2 separate regions of the Homo sapiens genome follow, and region 2 is linked to region 1. The links are contacts of gene promoters, found by promoter capture Hi-C in blood cells and fetal thymus (Javierre and others, 2016). All regions are on one chromosome and are shown on one strand. Each heading gives the region's core, a stretch centred on a gene start or on the middle of the fragment in contact. The rest is flanking DNA. Distances are from core to core; before and after follow the strand shown.

Region 1 (6,941 bases), core at 2,127-4,626:
ATGAACTGGGATCATGGAAACCAAACCAGAATAAAGCAAGCCCAGCACAATACTATCTTGGAGGCTGACCAGTTAGAAGGTCTTAAACATAATATATTTTAAACAAACAGTTAAAGGAAAAAGATTAACCTAGTGTTGTAACCGAGCGAGTTACAGAGAAACGCCACACTCTGAGACGAATTCAGGAGTCCTTTATTAGCCGGCAGCCGAGAGACAGCTAGCGCTCGAAATTCTCTTGGCCCCGAAGAAGGAGCTAGATTTTCTTTTATACTTTGGTTTAGACAGGGGAGAGGGGGAGTCTAGTTGAAACAATCTTACAGAAGTAAAGTAGGCAAAAAGTTAAAAGGATAAACGGTTACAGGAAAGTAAACAGTTCCAGGTGCAGAGGCTTTAAGTCTATCCTAAGGTGATGGACGCCGGGCTTTGGGCGTTATCAACCGGACACAAACGCAGGGGCTCTGGGTGCTATTAACCGGGCGAATTCCTGGGAACTGCGGATATAGCTTGCCACAGTATCTTATCAGTTAATTGCATTCTTGATGTGCTGGGAGTCAGCTTGCACAAGTTAAGTCCTTGAGGAAGGGGGTGGGTAAGGGGCTGCGAGTGAAGGAGTCACGATGGAGTCCGTCTGGCTCTCTTAGCTAAGGAAGAGTCACTTCAGGTTAAAACAAGGTAGGGTATCCCACTAGAAGCCTCACATCATTAAGCTTCAGTCAGGCAGGCATTCCTTTAAAAAGTGTTTACTGAGTACCTTCTCTATGTCAGTCACTATTTGGGGCATAAAGGACTCACTTCTCCGCAAAAACAAACTCTGATCCCCCGGTCTCCTCGAGTCACGGAGCTTGCAAGCTAGTGGGAAAAATTGGGAACTGGTGCAAAGAATGACTGCAAAATAAATTGTGGTCATCTTGAAGACATATGCGTGCATGTGTGCGTGAAGCTTTTTAAATAGAGAAGCTTTAAGTGGGGGAAATTTGCTGACATTACACGATTTCTTCTCTTAGTGCAAATGTATACAGCCTGTCTTTTTGAAGGGGTCACGGTAGATAATTATGCTCTGTTAACCTCATTTGTTGTCAGGGAAAATTAAAACTAAGGGTAGTGTCAGTAGGAATCTTGGTTCCTGCCAGTTTTGTTGTTTGTTAGCATATCTTCCTTTACAGGTAGTATGGTTTCATTTTCGTAAAAATGCTGCATAAACGTGGCTGGGTATGTTACTCATTGCAGTGCCTGCTGATTTCGCTGGACCCCACCCTGCTTTTGCTGCCCAATGCGATAGCATATGGGACAGAGCTAAATTCCTACTCAGCTGTAACTCTGCTTATTTTCAGGAAAAAGAATGCCTGTGTTTCGAAGTTCCTTCTTAGGACGAAACCAGCTGAAGCTGGCGAAATCCAAGATGGCGCCTCTGAAGAGCCTCTGGCTTTATCATCATCCTGTTCTCATGCTAAACAACATGTCGCCATGACAACGACTGGAAGAGACCAAGAAGGGACAGAAAAAAAGGGGTTTCTTGATTCCGGGAAAAATCTCCGTTCTTTCCCAAGGAAAGCACGAATATTCCCCCCCGTGCTCTTAATGCCCAGCCCCTTCATTAAAGACACCCTACCTCTGAAACTTCCCAGCTCTCACAAGCTAAGTTGATTTCAGATCTTCCAATTCCATAGCCATTGAATACAGCCTGCACTGCTTGACACACTCCCTTTCGGTTTCGTGCATTGGCCTCACCACGCAACAGGAAACAACCCTTTTTGGGATAACCGGGACTCCCGGTAACATTTCCATATATACATATCTTAATGTATGCAAGGGCGTCTGGGGGAGAAAGAAGCAGCACATTTCATTCTTTGCTTTCTATAATACTGGATTGCTTGAGTTTGTGACACATGTTAACATTTGCAACATTTTTAAACTAAATTGTATGTATTATAGAACAGTCCTCTGCGCTGAGCTTGGACTTAAAGTGGAAAGGCTTACATTTGCAGAATTAAAAAAAGCATCGAAACATTCTGTGGCAGGAAGTCCTGCGAGCCTCCTCGCCCCAGCCCGGTTTCCCGCGGGCCCCAGCCTCATCCCCCAAGGCCCCACCCTGAGAGCCCCCAGGTCCCAGCCGCGTCCTCCTGGACCCCTCCCAGGCGTGGCGAGCCGGGTCGCGGGAGCGCTCCGCCACCAGGGGACAGTGCGGCGCCGACCGTGGGCTGCTGGCTCGGCCGAGGGCACCCAGGCGCCCTCCGCTGCAGCGGGCTGGTTGCAGAGGGGCGGGCTCTCGCCAGGCAGCAGGCGCTCCGGGCGCAGCTGGGAGGAAGGAACGCCCCCGGGAGTGGGCGGCGGCCGAGGGACCCTGCAACCGTCCTCCCTGGAGGAGGCCCCCGCAGCTCCCGCAGCCCCCCTCATCCCGGACGGGCCGGGGATTGGGACTGGCCTGGGGTCTCCTACTCTCCTACTCCGCGCAGGAAGTAGCCCCTTGGCAGGACCGGCGGTGCCTGCTGCTTTCAGGAGCCCCGAGCCGCTTTTGTCTGGGTGCAGCTCAGCTCACATCCCCGATGCAAGTCTTTCCCGGCTCGTCTCCCCTTCTTCCCGGAGTCCATGCCTTGCTGTCGGTGACTCATCCCACACTGTGCCCTGCGACTCACCCTGTCGCTTTCTCTGTTCATCCGGGAGCGCGGCGCCATCTCCCTCCAGCCCCGCCTCCCCTACAGTGCTCCGTGCTGAGGTCGCACGTTCTCTCCTCCCTCCAGCTCCCTGGCTCTTGGCCCTTCCCAGGCCACCAGGCGACAGCAGCCTCCGCCTTCATTTCCCTTGGTCATTTCAGGCGCATGCTTGGAGGATTTCAGGATCTGACTCAGCTTCCCCGCCATGCATCCCTCCACCAGCATCCAGTCACACCTCTGCAGCCTTCAGTGTCCTGGAAAGGACTGACCAATCTGACCCATTAGAACCTACCCAGACCAATTTGAAGGCCACTGCCCCTCAACCGTGGCCACCCACTCCTGCCCCACCTGGAGCCCCAAACTGCTCAGTTCCTTCTCTAAAACTCTGCCCTCTTTTGTTTGTTGTGAATAACTGTCTTCCCTGGTTCTTTCCACACCTCTCTGGCCTCTCCTTGTCTTTTTCTGGTTCTTTTTTTCTCTATTCTCCCTTATGCACTGGCCTTGCTGGAGGTCCCTGCTCTCCCTGCAAAACCTCACCACACCCTTGACTTCAGCTATATCCATTTCACCTCACGTTGACATCTGGTGCCTAGACCTCTCTCCCGAGCCTTCCACACCATGCCAAAAATGAAATTCATTTTCTCCTCTAAATTTGCTCACCTTCTTGTTTTCCCAATCTTATTTATTGTCACAGCCATTCCCCTGCTGGTCCAAGTCAGTAGTCTGAGAGTCATGCTAGACTCCTCCTTCCTTATCTACCCATCCACCAATCCCCAAGCCCTGTCTATCCTCCTTTTTTTTTTTTTTTTTTTCCAGTCAGAGTCTTGCTGTGTTGCCCAGGCTAGAGTGCAATGGCACGATCTCGGCTCACTGCAATCTTTGCCTCCCGGGTTCAAGTGATTCTCCTGCCTCAGCCTCCTGAGTAGCTGGGATTACAGGCGCATGTCACCACGCCCAGCTAATTTTTGTATTTTTAGCAGAGATGAGGTTTTGCCATGTTGGCCAGGCTGGTCTTGAACTGCTGACCTCGTGATCCGCCTGCCTCTGCCTCCCAAAGTGCTGGGATTACTGGCATGAGCCACTGTGCCTGGTCATCTATCCTCCTTTTTAAATAGCTCTGCCATGTGTGCCTGTCTCCCCTGACAGCTCACCCTCATCCTATTTGTCCACATTGCTGCAGAGTAGTCTCTTCCATACACCAGGAGTTCCCAACCCCCGGGCCACAGACCTGACTGGTCTGTAGCCTGTTAGGAACCAGGACACACAGCAAGAGGTGAGCCACCAGTGGGTGAGCTAGTGAAGCTTTATCTGTATGTGCAGCTGCTCCCCATTGCTTGCATTACCACCAGAGCTCTGCCTCCTATCAGATCAGGCAGCATTAGATTCTTATAGGAGCACAAACCCTACTGTGAACTGCACACATAAGGGATCTAGGATGTGCGCTCCTTATGAGAATCTAATGCCTGATAATCTGCCGTTGTCTTCATCACCCCCACATGGGGCCAGATAGTTGCAGGAAAACAAGCTCAGGGCTCCCACTGAAAATAAAGTGCACAAGAAGTGTCATGTGCTTGAATCATCCCGAAACCATCCTCTGCTGTCCAAGGAAAAATAGTTTTCCACAAAACCCCTCCCTGGTGCCAAAAAGGTTGGGATGGTTGCCATACATAACTCTGATGATGAGACCACGAAGCTCAGAATCCTCCAGAGGCTCTCCACTGCCTGTAAGATGAAATAAAATTTATGGGTGTGACTTATCCATAAGGGCCCAGTCTAAACTGCCTCATATTTAATTATATAGTAAGCTATTTGTTTCCTCAAACGTATATATTTTGGCCCATTTCCCAGTCTCCTAGGTTGGAATATGCTCTGTGTGTCACCTGGCCAGCTCATGCTCTTTCTCATTCTCAGCTCAAGTGTTAGGGACTCTATGACACCTTTCTTGATTCTCCCAGTCAGACATATTGTTGCTACTTTTTCTTAACACTTATCCTTTTATCCTTGGCACCACTAAAGCACATATCACATCAGATTTCACTTGTTTGCACATCTGTCTGGCATCTTGAGCCCAGGGACCGTGTCGCCTGTCTTCATGTCCCCAGGCCCTAGTGTAGCTCCCAGCCTATAGTGAGTGCAGAATAAAAGTTTGTAGAATGAGGCCAGGCGCGGTGGCTCATGCCGGTAATCCCAGCACTTTGTGAGGCCAAGGTGGGCAGATCACGAGGTCAGGAGTTTGAGACCAGCCTGACCAACATGGTGAAACCTCGTCTCTACTAAAAATACAAAAAATAGCCGGGTGTGGTGGCACGCGCCTGTAATCCCAGCTACTCAGGAGGCTGAGGCAGGAGAATCGCTCAAACCTAGGAGGTGGAAGTTGCAGTAAGCTGAGATCGCGCCACTGCACTCCAGCCTGTGCAACAGAGTGAGACTCTGTCTCAAAAAAAAAAAAAAAAGTTTGTAGAATGAATGAAACAATTAGTTACACCACAGTTAGTGAGTCATCGATACTTCATCAAGGCTGGGTATTTCGTATAATAAAGTTATTAAAGCTGATAAGCAAAGATCAAGTTACCCAAAGAACAGCACTGCCGGTGATCTAAAGGTCTTTGCCCTCAGGTTGCTTAGGTAACGGAAAGGATAAGAACTCCCCACTGTTCTGGGGCGGATCTTACATTGCTTTTGGAAGAGGCAATAGACTTGGGAAAGAAAGGAGTGTGTGTATTGAGGTATTGAGGGAATGGTTAGGTGGGAGGAGTCAGAGAGGAAGGCTGCAGTAGCCCCTCAGTCGACCCTGGCTGCTTTGTCCTTGGGGCTCAGTGAACAGATTATCTGTTTTCATGGTAAGGGGTTGGGATTCTCTACTTCAGGTGGGCACCCAGAAAGTGAATTGCTCGCCTTTGTTTAAAAATAATGAAAATGGGCCGGGCGCGGTGGCTCATGCCTGTAATCCCAGCACTTTGGGAGGCTGAGGCAGGTGGATCACCTGAGATCAGGAGTTTGATACCAGCCTGGCCAACATGGTGAGACCCCGTCTCTATTAAAAATACAAAAATTAGCCAGGCGTGGTGATGGGTGCCTGTAATCGCAGCTACTCAGGAGGCTGACACAGGAGAATCACTTGAACCCAGGAGGCGGAGGTTGCAGTGAGCTAAGATCTTGCCACTGCACTCCAGCCTGGGCTACAGAGCAAGACTCTGTCTCAAAAACAAACAAACAAAAAACCCAAAAATAATGAAAATGTCTGCCCACCCTTCACTAAGTAAACATAATGAAAATGCACATCTTGTGCCCTCTTTTGCTTTTATTCTATAATACCCAAGCCTACGTTTTGGAACTAAACCCCACGCCCTTTGTGTGAAAGCCATGCGGATCTTCAAAGGGATCTCTTTAGGGGGAACATTAAGTTTGCCCAAGGAGGCACCCTTCTGGGTCTCCAAGGCCACCTGGCTGCAATGCAGTCCAATTCCAGCCTCTGTCTCCCAGAGCACCCCCTGTGCCAGGGCGGCAGGATCCCAGGGGTGTGTCTACCATGGCACCAGACACACACTGGCTGAATGTAGCCTCGTCATCGCTGAGCCCTGTTCACAACCATTTTTGTTTTCGTGCTTTTTCAGTTTTAGGAGCTTTGTTGTATCCCTGGTCAAAACTACTCTGGTGAAGCTCACTAGGTGTCTCTAACTCGGCACCTGAGGAGCAGTTTTCCTGAGCTCCTCATGCAAATGGACGCCACTCCCTTCGGCAAAGTCCTGGGAGCTCAAGGGAGGCTGCCCAGTCAGCTGCGGCCCATCCCAACGCATTGGGGACCTGCCCACCTGGCTCTTAATTTGCATTTTGAAATGTCACCCAAGTGATTCCAGACCAGATAAGAAGATGAGCTTCTCTTGTTATGGAAAAAGGAAGAGAGACAGAGAGAGAAACCTCTGTTTTGTTATTTAGCTATTCCTCAAATTCTTATGACCAGTGATGATATTTTTTAAAAAATCTCCAGAACAACACAATTATTTAAATTTAACTCAGATTTTATTTTAATTTATTAATTTATTTATTTTTGAGATGGAGTCTCGCTGTGACACCCAGGCTGGAATGCAATGGCGCAATCTTGGCTCACTGCAACCTCAGCTTCCCGGGTTAAAGCGATTCTCCTGCCTCAGCCTCCCAACTAGCTGGGATTACAGGTGCCTGCCACCACGCCTGGCTAATTAATTAATTATTATTATTTATTGAAACGGAGTCTCACTCTGTCACCTGGGCTGGAGTGCAGTGGTGTGATCTTGGCTCACTACAACCTCT
Region 2 (6,941 bases), core at 3,209-5,708, 1.0 Mb before region 1:
TATTTTTCAAGTGTTGGCTTAAATGTCCGTCTCACAGATAGCCCTTATCTAAATAACAGCTTTCCCTCTGGTTCCTAGATAAATTAGGACCTGTTTTTTTCTATAACTTTCTTAAAGTATCCTATTATTTTCCCTGATAAAACCTTGTTGGACTGTTTGTCAGTATATTTATTTGCCTGTTTGTTTGGTGTCAGTTTCTCTTTTTTTCCTGTGTGTTTTGTTTGTTTGTTTTTTTGAGACGCAGTTTCACTCTGTCACCAGGCTGGAGTGCAATGGTGCAATCTCGGCTCACCACAACCTCCACCTCCCAGGTTCAAGCAATTCTTCTGCCTCAGCCTCCCGAGTAGCTGGGATTACAGGCATGTGCCACCATCCTGGCTAATTTTGTATTTTTAGTAGAGACAGGGTTTTTCCATGTTGGTCAGGCTGGTCGCAAACTCCCGACCTCAGGTGATCCGCCTGTCTTGGCCTCCCAAGGTGCTGAGATTACAGGCGTGAACCACCGCACCCGGCCTGTTTGTTTGTTTTCTTATTAGACTATAAACTATATGAGATCAGACCATGTCTCTTTTGTTTATCACTCTGGCCTACCTGCTAACACAGTGCTTACACATAATAGTAGGTGCTCAAGAAATACAGTGTTTGATGGATGAACGTAAAATTGTAAGAGCCTGAACTAGTGTAATATCGAAAATAGGGAGGAAGACATGAATTAGGAAAGCCTTTGAAAAATTAGCATGTTCTGTGATAAAGCTACATCTAGGCAATATTTTTTGATACTTTTAAAAAAAAAACTGTAATAGCTACCCAATATTTAGGAATGATACACATCACACATCTCAGTGAGGTATGTAGCCTTTTGTACTGGTGAAGAGAGCCAGGTGAAGTCTAACTCTAAGGATCTAAACACTCCATTCTAGTAGAGAGCCTGGAGAAGTGCTCTTGCATAAGCTCATCCATGTAAGACCATCCATAACTTAGTGAAATAATTTTCATTGCTGTTTAGTTGCAAAAATCACTCACTGTTTTGCCTCCATAAGATTATCGGTTTTAGTGTTTAATCGTTCACAGCCTTGTCAAAACCAAAATGGCTAGGGAGAGAACTATTTCCCTACATTAAAACTTCGAGCAATGCTCTTCATAGATTTTGTTTTGAATTGTTTAGGCCCATCTCAGAGTTCAAGACACTTAGTCTCTTCTAAGAGAAATCATGGTCACAACAAACAGAGATTAAATAAAGAGCAAGAAATTAGAAGAAACTCAAACCATTCACTTAGATTATTTGTTAGATTTTGGCCTTAAAAAGAGACAAAGTTGCTTGAAACAAGTGATTAAACTGACATTTTTAGATTATTATTTTATTCATACCTTTATTGTGAATAAATTGGCCACATGATAACATTTTATAATGTTAAATAAATATGATATATATAAATCTGTATACCACAACAATTAAATTGGAGGGCGATTTGCCATTTAAATAATTTATCATAGGATTTTTATAAGATCAAGCGCTTAGTGCATATCAAAGAGACAGAAAGTTTTCATTGCAGTTCTGCACGTTCACTGAGTACCTTTTATGTACCAGTTGCATTGTTCTAGAATCTTATCTATCATGTAAAGCTAGGTACACCTGAAATAGTTTAGTTATGGTGGCAAAGTTAGACTGCAGTTATTGGCTGGGAATTTTTTGTATATCTATGTACATCTTCCATAAGAGGGCAGCAAAGGACCAGCATGATTTTTTCCTTATCATGAAGTCATAGCAGAGATTGCCTCATATTGCAAACTTAATAGAAATCTTCTCAGAGTAAGGGCAAACAGAGGGCATGGTTACAAGTTTACTTACTGTCTAGCCTGTCTTTTATATGGTCTGATATGGCTTTTTAGTACATAGATTATCTCACATCACAGTGATAGCCTAGTGATTAAATGTTGATCCTGGGGTCAGTTGTCAGGCTTTAAATCCTGGAACCATAACTTAACTAGCTTCGTGGTCTAGAAAGACTACTCAGTCTTTCTGAGCCTCAGTTTCTTCCTCAATTTTTTATAAAAAGGAGGGCAAGGGATAGTAACAATGCCACTTCACATGGTTTTAATAAACAAAATAAAATTTGTGTCCTGAAGAGGCTAAGAACAGTTAAAAGGTGGAGCTAGAAAAACCACCCTATACTAGCCTTAGGTGTATTGTATTTATTTAAGTTAAACTCTTATTAAAAAGAGTCTCATAAAGGAAAATATAGGTCATTACTTTCTGTAACTACTTAGTATTTTTAGTTAACTAACATATATATCTATGTACTGACCAATTATTTGCTCGTACAATTTATCAAACCAATTAAATATACACTGTTAAATTTATTTCCCTGTCCCCCGAGACAGATCCTGGCTACGTTGCCCAGGCTGGAGTGCAGTGGCGCGATTTTGGCTCACTGCAACCTCTGCCTCCCAGGTTCAGGCAATTCTCCTGCCTCAGCCTCCTGAGTAGCTGGGATTACAGAGGCCTGCCACCATGCCTGGCTAATTTTTGTATTTTTAGTAGAGATGGGATTTCACCATGTTGGCCAGGGTGGTCTCAAACTCCTGACCTCAGGTGATCCAGCCGCCTCGGCCTCCCAGAGTGTTGGGATTACAAGCATGAGCCAGCACGCCTGGCCTGAAAATACATTTTGATGAACAAAAAATTTTTAATTTTTTTTTTTTTTTTTTTCCTGAGACAGAGCTTTGCTCTGTCACCCAGGCTGGAGTGCAATGGCGTGATCTTGCCTCACTGCAACCTATGCCTCCTGGGTTCAAGCAATTCTCCTGCCTCAGCCTCCCGAGTAGCTAGGATTACAGGCATGGGCCACCATGCCCGGCTAATTTTTTGTATTTTTAGTAGAGACGGGATTTCACCATGTTTGCCAGGCTGGTCTCAAACTCCTGACCTTGTGATCCGCCCCCGTGGCCTCCCAAAGTGCTGAGATTGCGGGCGTGAGCCACCACTCCCAGCCAAAAATTTTTTAATTTTAAAAGTCAATGTATATCATTTGTATTTTATAGTTAGTGCTTTTTTTGTATTGTTTAAATTTTTAAAATTCTTCCATTAATCTAAAATATTTTCATGTGTGCTTTCTACTAAGAGAATTTAAGTTTTGTTTTTGACATTATAGTTTTTAATACATTTGGATTTGGATCTTATATCTTGTATGATACAGAACTCTAATTTTCGCCTTTAACTACATGCATAATCATTTTTTCCACCTCCACTTATTGAATAGTTCCTAATTTTCCCATCAATATCATGTGTTTCTTCTGGCATAGCCAAAGTCCCATAAATGTGTGGGTCTGTTGTAGTTTCCTATTTAATTCAGTTAATTTGTCCAATTTGTTTTATTATGCCTTAATTACCACAGCTTCACAGTAAGTCTTTATGTCTGATAGGGCAGCTTCCTCTAGTGTCTTCAGAAATTTCCTGACTTTAAAAAAAATCCTTATTGTTCATGCTTTTTTAAAGAATTAGCTTTACATGATGCAAGAAAAAGATCTGTTGGAATTTTGATTGTAATTTTGTTAAATCTATAGGTCAACTAATTACAATATTGAATCTTCTTATGCACAAACATGGTATATTTCTCCATTTATTCAGGTCTTTATTTAATGTCTCCTAATGTCTTTTTGTAGTTTTTACTTAGAGATCTTACATATTTGTTATTATATTTACTCCTAGGTACTTGGTATTCTCTAAGATTATTGAAAATGCTGTCTTCTTTTTAATTACATTTTCAGGTATTTGTCATTGGTATAAAGAAATGTATTTGACAATAATCTTATATTCACCTTAAATTCTCTTATTTCTAATAAATTGTACTTTTTTTGGTTTTCTACAAAAATGATCATATCTAAAAATAAAGTTAGATTTGTTTATTCTTCTGCATCATTTTGAATTCAGTTTATTATTTCATGTGCTATTAGAACCTTTAATTTAGTATTATTTATTTTTTGATTTGTAAATCGGAATGCTTTTATTATCTTTTCATTTAGGATGATGTTTACTGTAGGTTACTTAGATACGCTCTATGGAAATCTCTTTTATTTTTTCTAAGACCTTTTATTATGAATTTAATGTTGAATTTTATCAAATGCTTTCTCTGCATTTATTAGAATAATTATGATTTTTCTCTATCTGTTATTATAATGGGTCAGATTTATAGATTTTTCTCATACTAAGCCTATCCTTGTATTCCTTGGATAAATCTAACTTGGTAATGTTTACTTTTTTCATAACTTTTAGCTATTAAGTAGATACCAAATTTTCTTTCAAGGTCAAGTTTGATAGTTATAAAAAACTAGTGATACTAAGTCATAGAAAATATACTTTAAAAAACTAGTGATACTAAGTCATAGAAAATATACTTTATTTTATAAAAAGACTTTAACTGTAAAAAGTAAAAAAAAAAAAAAAAAAAAAAAAAAAAAAAAAAAAAACCTGGCCGGGTGCGCTGGCTCACCCCTGTAATCCCAGCACTTTGGGAGGCCGAGGCAGGCAGATCACGAGGTCAGGGGATCGAGACCATCCTGGCTAACACGGCGAAACCCCGTCTTTACTAAAAATACAAAAAATCAGCCGGGCGTGGTGGTGGGCGCCCGTATTCCCAGCTACTCGGGAGGCTGAGGCAGGGGAATGGCGTGAACCCTGGGGGGGCGGAGCTTGCAGTGAGCCAAGATTGCGCCACTGCACTCCAGCCTGGGAGACAGAGCAAGACTCTGCCTCAAAAAAAAAAAAAAAAAAAACCCCTAGAATTTTAATTACTGCCTTTACTTTTAATTCAGTGGTTTTTAGTATATTCACAGAGTTGTGTAACAATCACCATGATCAATTTTAGCATATTTTTATTACTTCAAAAAGCAACTCTGGACTCATGAGCAGTCATTCACTCCCCATCTGCTCCCAACCCCTTTGTTCCCATCCGCCCACCCAGCCCTAGGCAGCCACTAATCTACTTTCTGTCTCTACAGATTTGCCTGTTCTGGACCTTTCATATAAATGCAATCAGGCAAAAGAAAGGAGATTTCAGTGCTCAGTGTTGCCAGGTATCTCTGCCTCCAGTTTTGCACCTTCCTGGAAAGCTCATTTTGTTCAGATTGTCTGCCTGCCTCTATCTATCCTGCCTTCAGTGGATGGCAGAGATTTCATCTCTTTTGTTTGCACAGCCTTGAAAGGTGCTTGATACAGAGATGCTTGGTAAATACTTGCAGAATAAATTATAAAAGTAACACATACTCATAAAAATTTTAAAGTAAAAATATGTATAGTAATAAACACTTGGTGCTTATTACATATCATCCAGTGGGATAAATGCTTGTAAGTATAGTCAGCCTTCTGTTTCCCTGGGTTCCAGATTTGTGGATTCAACCAACTGTGGCTCTAAAATATCTGGGGGGAAAATGGCATCTGTACTGAACATGTACATACTTCTTTTCTTGTCATTCCTTAAACAATACAGTATAACTATTTACATAGCATTTATACTGTATTAGGTATTATAAGTAATCTAGAGATTATTTAAAATATACTGGAGGATGTGCATAGGTTATATGCACATACTATGCCATTTTATATCAGAGATTTGAGCATCCAAGGATTTGGGTATCTGCAAATTTTGGTATTCTTGGGAGGTCCTGGAACCAATCTCTTACAGATACCAAAGGATGGCTGTATTCTCCATTCCTTTTCACCAGCTGAGATCGTACTGTTATCTGCACTTAACAGATTAAGAAATAGGTGTGATGAGTAATTTGTTTAAATTCTGTGGTTGATTGTGTTACTTTTCGACTGTATTCTGTGCTCTTCCCTACAGGAGGATTATTCATTCCTGTTTACTTGAATTCAGGCAACATCATGTAACTTGATTTAAGGAACCGATACATGAGTGGAAATTCTGTGTGGCATTTCTGAGCAGAAGTTTTATGAGGCAGCACATGCTCACTGTGTTACCTGTTCCTTCTGCCATGAGACTGGCAGATGGACATTCTCTATCAGCCAGGATATCAGAATGAAGAAATGTAGAACATAGACCAAAACACCAATGAGAAATAAGCGTTTGTTGTTTTAGGGAAAGTGTGTTACCACAGCATAATTTAACCTATCCCAAGTGAATACATATTCATGGAGTTAATATCTATACCTGAAAATTGAAACTCAGGTTGTCTACATCTAACTATGCCTCTGTCTTTTCCAAAGGTATAAAGTAGGAGAAACTTCCCCATGATCCTACTCTTCCAGTGTTAACTACAGTTAAAATTTAGTGTAAAATTGTTTAATACTTTTTCCTATGTGTATGTCAATGTTCATTTTTTTAAAACTGGGACCACTTTATATGACACATACTATTTTAGAGCTTCCTTTTCCTACTTAGTAATATAAAATGGACCACTGTCACAGGTTAGGTTTTCCATAAACAGACACTGAGTTTGGAATATAAGATTATTTTCAGGGATCATCACCTTTAAAAGGAGAAGTGAAGAAGTAGGATTGGGGAGAGCAAGAAGTAGAGCTGTGATGCTGGCCCACAGATGTCTCTCTGGGGTTCGTATTGTTTGTCAGAGTTATCCCATATCTTGTAGAAGTGGCCATGCTTTTCAACCCACTCCTTACTCAGTGGCCTGATGTGGGCTGCCCTGAGCAAGGTAGCTTTCTGCAGCTGAAGCAGACACTGAAGTTGCTGGCAGCTAACTCCATCTTTGCAGCTGGGCAGCAAATCCTTTCTTGAAGTGGGATCTGGACATTTATATTTGTCTAGCACAGTTCATTTTTTGCATCACTTGGAAACCCTTCTCTGTTTTCATTCCTTTTGTTCTTAATGTATATTCTCAAGCCTCTTGTCTACAATCACTAGATAAGTTTGTTGTAAACTGTCTTAACTATAAAATGAAGAAGGTATAGGTAACTATAATATGAA

What was found. Contacts are between HindIII fragments. The CHiCAGO score rates a contact against its expected background, and 5 or more counts as called.
Region 2: a contact is called between a fragment that was not itself captured here and the fragment with the promoter of LINC01011 in region 1, in 2 of 17 cell types (naive CD4 T cells and total CD8 T cells). The highest score is 7.0, in naive CD4 T cells.

What each region holds. Positions count from the first base shown.
Region 1 is chr6:2,984,402-2,991,342 of GRCh38, reverse strand. It overlaps LINC01011 (long intergenic non-protein coding RNA 1011), which reads right to left and starts at 3,376. Exons shown (of 3, transcript NR_026856.1): 1 at 3,312-3,376; 2 at 1,610-1,815; 3 at 172-1,474. It overlaps NQO2-AS1 (NQO2 antisense RNA 1), which reads left to right. Exons shown (of 2, transcript NR_186367.1): 2 at 1,332-2,007. RefSeq lists enhancers at 197-1,004, 1,282-1,441, 1,005-1,814, 1,815-2,624, 2,625-3,434 and a silencer at 2,012-2,431. The HindIII fragment of the contact is 2,996 bases long and covers 960-3,955 here.
Region 2 is chr6:4,003,375-4,010,315 of GRCh38, reverse strand. LOC124901245 (a long non-coding RNA gene) reads left to right here. Exons shown (of 2, transcript XR_007059415.1): 2 at 1-6,941. Among named protein-coding and RNA genes, the nearest start is that of PRP4K, 14 kb to the left of the region's middle. The HindIII fragment of the contact is 9,050 bases long and covers 1-6,941 here.